Linked DNA regions of Homo sapiens: region 1 is linked to region 2. Evidence: promoter capture Hi-C in human tissues and cell types (Jung and others, 2019). All regions are on one chromosome and are shown on one strand. Each heading gives the region's core, a stretch centred on a gene start or on the middle of the fragment in contact. The rest is flanking DNA. Distances are from core to core; before and after follow the strand shown. Region 1 holds the start of ADSL (adenylosuccinate lyase). Region 2 holds the start of APOBEC3F (apolipoprotein B mRNA editing enzyme catalytic subunit 3F).

Region 1 (5,570 bases), core at 1,365-3,864, 1.3 Mb before region 2:
TTTTATTTATTGCTTAATCCTTAGTGCTTGGCATGATGGTGGCCATTTTACTTAGATGGATTTACAGAAACCAAATTTAGAAATTCTGTAAGTAGTTTTGCCAGGAAATTATATACAGCAAATGAGTGCAACTGAAAGCAATTCCAGGAGATATTGATGAGAAAATAAACACATTGATGTCTTACATTCATCCATCACTGGAAAAATTAGGCTGCAAAAAATAGCTGGCAGCCCACAGGCAGCTCGGAACTTAGATCCAAGGGCTGAATACAAACAGTGGTGAAACTGATTTAAACCTCACTTGAAACTTGCAAACAGTGACTCCGGGAAGGATCTTGCATCTTAGATCTTTTTTATCCAAGAAAGGAGCTACTAGCCAGATATGGCTATTTAAATTTAAATTGATTAATTAAAAAGTATTGGAAAATATTTATAAGTAAAAAGTCAGGCCAGGTATGGTGGCTCACATCTTTGGGAGGCCAAGGTCGGTGGATCGCTTGAGTCCAGAAGTTCTAGACCGCACTGGAAAACACAGTGAGACCCATCTCTACAAAACAACACAAAAATTTGCCGGGCGTGGTGGCGTGCACCTCTAGTTCCAGCTTGGGAGGCTGAGGTGAGAGGACAGCTTGAGCCCAGGATGCAGAGGTTGTAACGAGCCAAGATTGTGCCACTGCACTCCAGCCTAGGCGACAGAGCCAGACCCAGTCTCAAAACCTAAATATATAAATAAAAGTAAAAAGTCAGTTTCTCAGTCACACTAGCTGCATTTCAAGTACTCGGCAGCCACATGTGGCAGAACTGCCTGGAACCTTTACAGTCACAGAAGACATGACACCTCTGGGCTCCTTCCAAAGCAAAGCAGCAGAGGGCAGCACGGCCATACTGCTTCCTCCCCTCAAGCAATTTATCTTTTCAAAATTCATACTTTCCTTACTACAAATTTTCTGCATTCCTCCTAATCTCTTATTCTCCAAGTTTTTTCTTAGCTACTAAGTTATTATGCAATTTATGGTAATTTTGACACCCTAACAGATAATCCAAAGCCAAAATTGTATGCATTTTAGGCCAACACAAAGAACACATACTCAGACTCTACATTCCAATTCCAGCTTGAAGCCATTTACTAGCTTTGGCGACCCTGGCAAAGTCTTGAGTACCACTACCCTCATCTACAGAATAGAATATCAGATGAAATAGAAAGAGTACACACTAGTACATCACAAACCACAACACATGATTAAGGTCTACTACTATCGCTATCTACGCCAAGAGTTTATTAAGTTGATGCTTCATTCTTCCATCTGTAAAACAGGTACAGTCATAGTATTTCATACCTACTCTTCAGGGTTGTTTGGAGGATTAATAAGCAACCATGTGTAAAGGGTTAAGACCTGGGTCTCAGAAGGCACTATCTGAATGTCTGCTATTATTGTAGTGTATCGCCCAATATTTTGGAGGGCAGTGATAAGGGGAGGGAGGGAATCTAGAATGAAAGTTTCCTGTTTGGAGAGTTCCATGGTACAGGTCCTAGGCCCGAAGTCAAATTGTTTCCATGTTTACTGTGCCGTTTGAGAGGGCATTGCCAACTTGCTCGTTGTGGCACTTTCCTCTGAAACTTGAGGAGAAACATTATCGCTCTCTGGATCACCTTCAGTTTGCTTCAACTCTTCTGGAGCTATTTCTGAAACCGCTGGGCTAAGAAGTTCTCTATGCAGCCCTTAGAAAAGAAATTATAAACCCCGTTTAATAAACCCCTACCCGGAGTCTTCTCCTAAGAGGCAAAGCGGAGGCCAGTGAGGCAGAAACGGTGGCCTAGAAAACAAGCATTCCAGTCCTGTCACTAACTACACAGGCACTGTGGAAAACCAAGGGGCTACGTGCTCAGCTCAGGCTCTGGAGTGCACCCAGGTTCAAATCCCAGTTCCGTTCTTAATAGCTGGATGGGCTAGGGCAAACAACAAGCTGTCCGGGCTTTGTTCTCCCCTGCAATGTGGGAAAAACACCATCAAGCCTGCAAGATCTTCATGGATTACACAAGAAAAGATTAGTGAAATAATGAGCACAACAGTACGAAACAAGCGCTCGGTGTCTGTGGTTAGCAGCGTACTCCTGCGGGGATGGCCAAAATGAATTCCCTGAAACTACAGGCTGAATTTCTCCCAGCCTCCTCCGCGTCTCGAACCCTCTCGGACTGAGAACACGTGAGGCAACAGGTGGCGGCTCCCGGATCTCCTGCCCTTGCTTTCCTGGGGCCGCAGCTCCTCAGGACAGGGAACACCCAGCTGAAAATAGCCGGGCCGCAGCTCCGGGGTGGCTAAGCCCAGCCCGGAACAGAGCCCGGCACGTGCTGGGGCGGGCCCGTCCCTCCCGGCCCAGCCCCTCAGCCCGGGATCCGTTACCTGCTCGGCCTCCGCCAGCCACAGCCACAGCTGCCGCCATGTCCGGAATTTATACCTGTCGCTAAACACGAAGCACATCTCCGGGCTGGCATAGCGGGAGGCAAGAGGTGAGCGGTAGCTGTCGGGCGAACCATGATCGCCTCCAGCCGCCATCCCAACCCTGCGACCCCGCCAGGGTGGACTGGACCAGGGAAGAGCGGAAGCGGAAACCTGGAGGCCAGGGCAGGACGGGGCGGGGCGGGACTTCCTTCACGCGGTCTCGCTCTCTGGGTTCCGGGCGCCCTGGGCGCTGCCGGCTGCGGAGAATCTCCGCTGCTTCTGCCTGAGAATTGACTTGGTTCGCTTCTTTGACCAGAAACATGATTGATGCTTCCTACGTTACTTAGCCGCGCTACACTTTAGTTTTCCTGTCTGAAAAGAGGTACATTAAGACTTCCTTGGCCGGGCGCGGTGGCTCACGCTTGTAATCCCAGCACTGTGGGGGCCCCAGACCGGAGGATCGCTTGAGGCCGACAGATCGAGACCAGCCTGGGCAACACAGGGAGACCCTCCCGTCTCTAAAAAACAAAAAGCAAAAAAAAAAAAAAAAAAAAAGGCCTGCCTTTCGGGTTGTGCGGATTCAGTGTTAGAGCGGTGTCTGGCACACTTGGAAGGCCGTGTGTACGCTTGCTGTTACTCTTATTACTGTCGCCCCACCCACTCCTGCCCGCGGCGCACCGAGCTCGGCTCTAAGGAGAAATGAAGATACCCAAGGGAAATCGGCATTTACTGCGCCCCCAGTGAGCCGGCTGCGGTGGCCTACGCCTGTAATCCCAGCACTTCGGGAGGTCGAGGCAGGCAGATTTCCTGAGCTTAGGAGTTTGAGACCAGCCTGGGCAACACGTGAAACCCTGTCTCTACTAAAATACAAAAAATTAGTCGGGCATGGCGGCCTGTACCTGTAGTCTCAGCTACTTGTGAGGCTGAGACAGGAGAATTTCTTGAACCCGGAAGGCGGAGGTTGCAGTGAGCCAAGATCGCGCCACTGCACTCCAGCCTGGGCGACAGAGCGAGACTCCGTCTCCAAAAAATAAAAGAATTAAATAAATAAATAGAAATAGAAACACTCAAGTGGCCCCCCCCCTTTTTTTTTTTTTTGACAGGGTCTTGCTATGTTGTTCAGTCTGGAGTGCCAGTGGGGTGATCACACAGGAAAGGGTTCATCTGGAGCTGTAAGAGCCAGGTGTCTCAGCTGGGCACGGTGACTCACGCCTATAATCTCAGCACTTTGGAGGCTGAGCTGGGCAGATCGCTTGAGTCCAGGAGTTGGAGACCAGCCTGAGCAACATGATGAAACACTGTCTCTACAAAAAATACAAAAATTAACTGGGTATGGTGGTGTGCACCTGTAGTCCCAGCTACTTGGGAGGCTGAGGTGGGAGAATCACTTGAGCCCAGGATGTTGAGGCTGCAGTAAGCCATGATTTTGCCACTACAGCTTAGGCAACAGTGAGACCCTGTCTCAAAAACAAAACAAACGAAAAGAGCCGGGTGCCTGCACCCTCTCCACCTGCACTTAACTCCTAGCTCTCTGCCTTTTACGTGAGGAATCTAAAGACACTCAAGCCAGGTGTGGTGGCTCACGCCTGTAATCCCAACACTTTGAGAGGCCGAGGCGGGAAGATCGCTTGAGCCCAGTACTATGCTGCTTTGAAATTACTTGTTTCTGAGTGCCTTACTAAAATGAGACCTGTGGAGGAATTCCAATTTTAACTCCCAGTTTATTTGCTGAGAGTTAACTTCACTTTTCCAATAACCATAATATTTCTAGACTATTACAAGTACATGATTAAGGGCCAGGCACGGTGGCTCACACCTGTAATCCCAGCATTTTGGGACGCTGAGGCAGGTGGATCACCTGAGGTCAGGAGTTGGAGACCAGCCTGGCCAACATGGTGAAACCCCATCTCTACTCAAAATACAAAAATTAGCCAGGTCGTGGTGGCAGGTGTCTGTAATCTCAGCTACTTAGGAGGCTGAGGCAGGAGAATCACTTGAACCCAGGAGGTGGAGGTTGCAGTGAGCCGAGATCGTGCCACTGCACTCCAGCCTGGGCAACAAAGTGTGACTCCAACTCAAGAAAAAAAAAAAAAAAGTACATGATTAGATCTCAAGGCTTCAAGATCTTTTCTTTGACAATAACTTCTTTTCCAGTCACCTTCCCATTCCTGCTTTCATTCACAGATTCACTCAAAAACCTATGGAGCACCCATGACAGTGTTCTCCCTCCACACCTCTGGGCTTTCTTAGATGCTGAGTGACCTCCCGGCTTCTTTTTTTTTTTTTTTTTTTTTTTTTTTTGAGACAGAGTCTCGCTCTGTCGCCCAGCCTGGAGTTCAGTGACATGATCTCGGCTCACTGCAAGCTCCCCGTCCCGGGTTCACGCCATTCTCCTGCCTCAGCCTCCCTAGTAGCTGGGACTGCAGGCGCCCACCACCACACCCGGCTAATTTTCTGTATTTTTTTTAGTAGAGATGGGGTTTCACCGTGTTGGCCAGGATGGTCTCGACCTTCTGATCTGCCCTTCTCGGCCTCCCTAAGTGCTGGGATTACAGGCATGAGCCACCGTGCCCGGCCTCTTTTTCTTTTATTTATTTATTTATTTTTTTTTAAGACAGAGTTTCACTCTTGTTGACCAGGCTGGAGTGCAATGGTGTGATCTCTGTTCACCGCAACCTCCACCTCCCGGGTTCAAGCGATTCTCCCTCCTCAGCCTCCTGAGTAGCTGGGATTACAGGCATGCGCCACCACACCTGGCTAATTTTGTTTTTTCGTTGTTTTTTTTTTTTTTTTTTTTTTAGAGACGGGGTTTCTCCATGTTGGTCAGGCTGGTCTTGAACTCCTGACCTCAGGTGATCCACCCACCTTGGCCTCCCAAAGTGCTGGGATTTCAGGCGTGAGCCACCACGCCCGGCTGGATGCTGAGACCTCCTGGCATCTCTTTCAAAACTCTTACCAGAATTCAGTGTTGCTTGCCTTGCTCATTGATGGCAAACTCAGTGGGGCAAGAGATCATGTCTGTGTTCCTGGCACTGAGCCCCAAACCTGGCATAGCATAGGTGCTCAGTAAATGTTTGCTGGATGCATAAATGCTGCCCCAAAGGAGCCTAGCCCAGTAAGAGAAATAAC
Region 2 (4,953 bases), core at 2,172-4,671:
TTCTGGCATCCATTCTCCCAGGCATCCATTCACCAGGCATCCTCAGCCCCTGCTGTGGCCTGGCCCTCTAGGGTCTGCCTTGTTCCCTGCCTGCGGTCAGCTGGGGAGGCCACTGGACCTGCGCTGTCCCATGTGGTGGGGCGCACTGGCCAAAGGGGCTACTGAGCACTTGAAATGGGGCTCTGATGAAAGACCTGGGCACCTGAAAAATACACCATACACCGCTCATTTATCTTTTTTTGTTTTTTGTTTTTGTTTTGAGACGTAGTTTCACTCTTGTTGCCCAGGCTGGAGTGCAATGATGCAATCTCGGCTCACTACAACCTCTGCCTCATGGGTTCAAGCGGTTCTCCTGCCTCAGCCTCCCAAGTAGCTGGGATTACAGGCGACTGCCACCACACCGGGCTAATTTTTTTTTTGTATTTTTAGTAGAGACGGGATTTCACCATGTTGGCCAAGCTGGTTTTCAAACATCTAACCTCAGGTGATCCACCCACCTCGGCCTCCCAAAGTGCTGGGATTACAGGCGCGAGCCACCCACCAAGCGTGGCCTACACAGCTCATTTCAAAGACTCAGTGTGACAAAAAGAAACTTCATTATCTTGTCAAGAATTTTATGTTAATTAATGTTGAAGTAATATGTTAGCCACATTGGATTAATTAAATATTAAAATTAGGCCGGCGCTGTGGCTCACACCTGTAATCCCAACACTTTGGGAGGCCGAGGCAGGTGGATCACCTGAGGTCAGAAGTTCGAGACCAGCCTGGTGAATATGGTAAAATCCTGTCTCTACTAAAAATACAAAAAAAAAAAAAATTAGCTGGGCGTGGTGGTGGGCACCTGTAATCCCAGCTACTCGGGAGTCTTAGGCGACAGCATCGCTTGAACCCAGGAGGCAGAGGTTGCTGTGAGCCGAGATCGCGTCATTGCACTCCAGCCTGAGCAACAAGAGTGAAACTCTGTCTCAAAAAAAAAAAAAAAAAAACACAAGGCCTTTTGTGCAAAGGCAAACCCCCTCCACGATCCGATCCCAGGACGGTCCAGCAGGAAGGTCAGGGCCACGGACTTGGAAAGTGTGGGAGAGAAGGACACACTGGATAGCCCGCCGCCGGGCACTTCACTTATCAGTGCGTGGTTTGCTTTCCCAGCTGGCTTAGCTCCTGCCTGCAAAGTGATTGAAGTCCGGGTGGTACCTGGCCTCGAAAGATCTTTGCGTCCAAACGGGGCCTTGAGGGACCCTTTGTTTTCACTTCGTAGCACAGCCAGACGGTATTCCGACGAGAAAGGATGGGTCTATTATAAAAGTTGTAGGAGAATGTGTCTCGATACATTCGCTCCACTGTGTTTCTGAAGACACAAGAGAGAAACCAGCCAATGTAGAGAGCGCTCCCGGGAGCCCTCAGGGCTGATGTCCACTAAACACAGCCCCCTGCATGGCTCTGGGCCTCCCCAACCCCTCCACAGCCCTGAGAATTTTTGCTTCCTTCCCAGGCAGGAAGACCGGGGAGAGAGCAAGAAAAGGGGATGCTGGCATGGGCAGCAGGGGCAGGCTGACCTCTTCCAGCTCAGGGTCCAGCTCTGGTCGTTCCAGGAGTACATTCCCCACCTTCCCAGTATTTCTCCCACCCATTCTCCAACGCATTAGTAAAATGCAAAAGAGAACAAAGTTCTTGGCTGGACATTATGGCTCATGCCTGTAATCCCAGCACTTTGGGAGGCCGAGGTAGGCCCATCACTTGAGGTCAGGAGTTTGAGACCAGTCTCACCAACATGGTGAAACCCAGTCTCTACTAAAAATATAAAAATTAGCCAAGCGTGGTAGTGGGTGCCTGTAATCCCAGCCACTGTGGAGGCTGAGGCAGGAGAATCGCTTGAACCTGGGAGGCGGAGGTTGTAGTGAGCCGAGATCGTGCCACTGCACTCCAGCCTGGGCTACAAGAGCGAAACTCCATCTCAAAAAAAAAAAAAAAAAAGAGAGAGAGAATAAAACTATTCACCCCAAAATAATAGATTTTAACCTTTCAGCCAGTTCCTTCTGACATTTCACCTCTGTATATTACTATTGTTAAATCATGGTAGAACCGAATTCTGAGGCCCAGGCCACTCTTCTAAGTGCTGCGCGGATGTGAGCTCATGTGAGGCTGCCCTAGGCCCGCACGGGCCATTCCCATCTTACAGAGGAGGTGCCAGAGGCGCAGAGAGATGGGGTAACCTGCCCAGGCCACAGAGCTGGGGACGGATGGGGCTGGGGCCTCTTACCAGACCAGCCCTGTCCAGTCTCTGTGTCACCAGCCTTGCAGGAGGGAGCCATTGGGGACCAGACTCTCTTCTTACTAAATTTTAAAATAATAGCATTTCTCCTGATCATTGAGTTTTTTTCCCATATATTCCATGTTTTTTGTTTTTGTTTTTTTTTCTTTTGAGACGAAATTTGGCTCTTGTTGCCCAGGCTGGAGTGCGATGGGGCGATCTCGGCTCACTGCAACCTCCGCCTCCTGGGTTCAAGCGATTCTCCTGTCTCAGCCTGTGGAGTAGCTGGATTATAGGCGCCCGCCACCACACCCGGCTAATTTTGTATTTTTAGTAGAGACAGGGTTTATCCATGTTGATCAGGATGGTCTCGAACTCCCGACCTCAGGCAATCCACCCACCTCAGCCTACCAAAGTGCTGGGATGACAGGTGTGAGCCACCGCACCCGGCCACTATATTCCATGTTACTCGTGTCATTTATAAACAGTGAATGCTGATAGTGGAGGAGGAGCGTGTGTTTGGGGTCATCTGCATCCTCCTCTGCCCACAGTGGAGACATCCTTGGAAGATACGATTTATCTTGTGCTTCAGAGACCATTCCCTCCCCACACCCTCTCCTAAGACTTGCTATTTAAGCAAAGTAAATGTTACAGAAAATCCATCAAAGCACTGTGAACAAAATTCCACATTGCTCTAATCATCCTTTGGTTCAATTCTCCCAGTTCCAGAGTTCAGGAATGGCGGAAAGAACACAGAGGGAGCACCCTCCCAGGGCCGGGAGCACCAGCCCTGCCATGACTTTCGGTGGCGGGGGAGAGTCTCAGCAGGGCACCTGGGCTGGGGCAGGTGGGGAAGCGGCCTATTCAGAAGCAGCAGTGGGGCAACCACAGAGCAGGAAAAAGAGCCTGGCTGGGAGTGGCGGGGGCAGGGGAGCCAGAGGGGAGGGAGCCCAGGGCTGGGGCTGGGGCAGGGGGAGGCCAGGGCTGACGCCCAGCAGAGCCACCAGGCAGGAAGGGGCAGCAGAGGGGCCCAGCGGGTAGAGCGGGCAGCGGTACCTGAAGTGAGGCTTCATCCTTGGCCGGCTAGTCCCGACTAAGATCTTTGTCTGGAGCACCAGGGTTTCACTTTCTGCTCCAGGCTCCAGGTTTCAGGACAGCCCTCCCTAAAGTGACCTCCCAGGGCCTCGTAGTCATGGCCCCTCCCCCTTCCTGCTCAGGCGCTGGTGTAGGAGGCCCTGGGACGCTTTATCTTCCTCAGTCTCTCACCCTCTTTCTGGTTTTCTCTGGGGCCCTCCCCCTGGCAGAGGGACCTCTGATAAAGACAGGCCGCTCTGTGCGGCAGGACCCAAGGCAATTGCAAAGGGAAAGAGAAAGTCATTGCAGCCAGCGCCCGCGAGGTGGGTCCACACCAGGCTGAGCCAGCAGAGCACAAGCCCCTCCCCTGGTGGTCCCGCCCAGCTGGAGCCTCCTCTCCACCATCAAGACAGACAGGCTGATGCCTCCGCAGGGACTCCCGGATCCTGCCCTCGGGGATCATCCCAGAGACGGCCCCCACCCAGCGGCCATGGGGACAGGGAGGGAGAGTAAAGGGCCAGGTGTCTGCCTCTCCCCAGGCCTTCACCCTCGGAGGCCACCGTGGGAGGGAGGGACAGCAGGTGGGTGTGGGCCTCAGATGTCCCACCGGGATGCCATGCGCGCCCCCACACTGAGCTCTTTCCTTCCTGCTTCTCCTTCTTCCCCATCTCCTGCCCGGAGTTCCTCCCTGGTGGGCTGAGCTCTCGCCTCCTCTTGTCCCCATGTCATGGAAGAGCAGTGGCTGGTGTCCCAGGCCAGCCTGTCTGGAGCCTCCCTGCGCGTCTCACAGCTCCCTTCCCCTGGTAGCGTGTTCCCATGGCGCGGTGACCTAAAAATTACACAAGGGATGCATTTGGTTTTTTTGTTTGCTTTTGTTTTTTTGTGTTTTTTTGTTTGTTTGTTTGTTTTGAGACGGAGACTTGCTCTGTTACCCAGGCTGGAGTACAGTGGCGTAATCTCAGCTCACCGCAACCTTTGCCTCCCAGGTTCAAAAGATTCTCCTGCCTCAGCCTCCCATGTAACTGCGATTACAGGCACCCACCCCTACGCCTAGGCTAATTTTTGTATTCTTAGTAGAGACAGTGTTTCTCCATGTTGGTCAGGCTTACAGCCGCCCACCACTATGCCTGGCTAATTTTTGTATTTTTAGTAGAGACAGGGTTTCTCCATGTTGGTCAGCTGATCTCGAACTCCCGATCTGAGGAGATCCGCCCGCCTTGGCGTACCAAAGTGCCGGGATTACAGGTGTGAGCCACCGCGCCTGGCCACAATGTATAAATTTGGAAAGGAGATTTTATTTCTTGTTAAGGGTGACAGGCAGCAAGGTAGCCATCCCGCAGCCTGGGAAGAGCAGCCTCTGGGAAACACCAGAGACAGACATTTAGAAGCAGGAGGGGTTGGGGCAGGAGCTTTATGCTGAAGGGGTTGGCTAAACATACATATTCAACAGGCTATAGGAGGAGCTATGAATATTCATGTGGGTGGCTGCACTCCATGCTTATTGAACAAACATGCGTGTAACATATGATCCCAGGCAGGCACAGTGGCTCACGCCTGTAATCCCAGCATTTTGGGAGGCCGAGGCAGGTGGATCATCTGAGGTCAGTGTCAGGCCTCTGAGCCGGAGC

Evidence for each region. The method cuts DNA at HindIII sites, captures the fragments that hold promoters and counts their contacts. A contact is called where the count stands out against the background at its distance.
Region 1: a contact is called between the fragment with the promoter of ADSL here and the fragment with the promoter of APOBEC3F in region 2, in 1 of the 25 tissues and cell types used here (dorsolateral prefrontal cortex).

What each region holds. Positions count from the first base shown.
Region 1 is chr22:40,343,544-40,349,113 of GRCh38, reverse strand. ADSL (adenylosuccinate lyase) reads right to left here and starts at 2,614. Exons shown (of 13, transcript NM_000026.4): 1 at 2,403-2,614. The coding sequence starts at 2,555. RefSeq lists enhancers at 1,559-2,071, 2,072-2,585, 2,586-3,099 and silencers at 2,272-2,361, 4,742-4,914. The HindIII fragment of the contact is 18,864 bases long and covers 1-5,570 here.
Region 2 is chr22:39,039,332-39,044,284 of GRCh38, reverse strand. APOBEC3F (apolipoprotein B mRNA editing enzyme catalytic subunit 3F) reads right to left here and starts at 3,421. Exons shown (of 7, transcript NM_145298.6): 1 at 3,308-3,421; 2 at 1,195-1,348. The coding sequence starts at 3,324. RefSeq lists a silencer at 645-875 and enhancers at 1,722-2,499, 3,552-3,611. The HindIII fragment of the contact is 19,854 bases long and covers 1-4,953 here.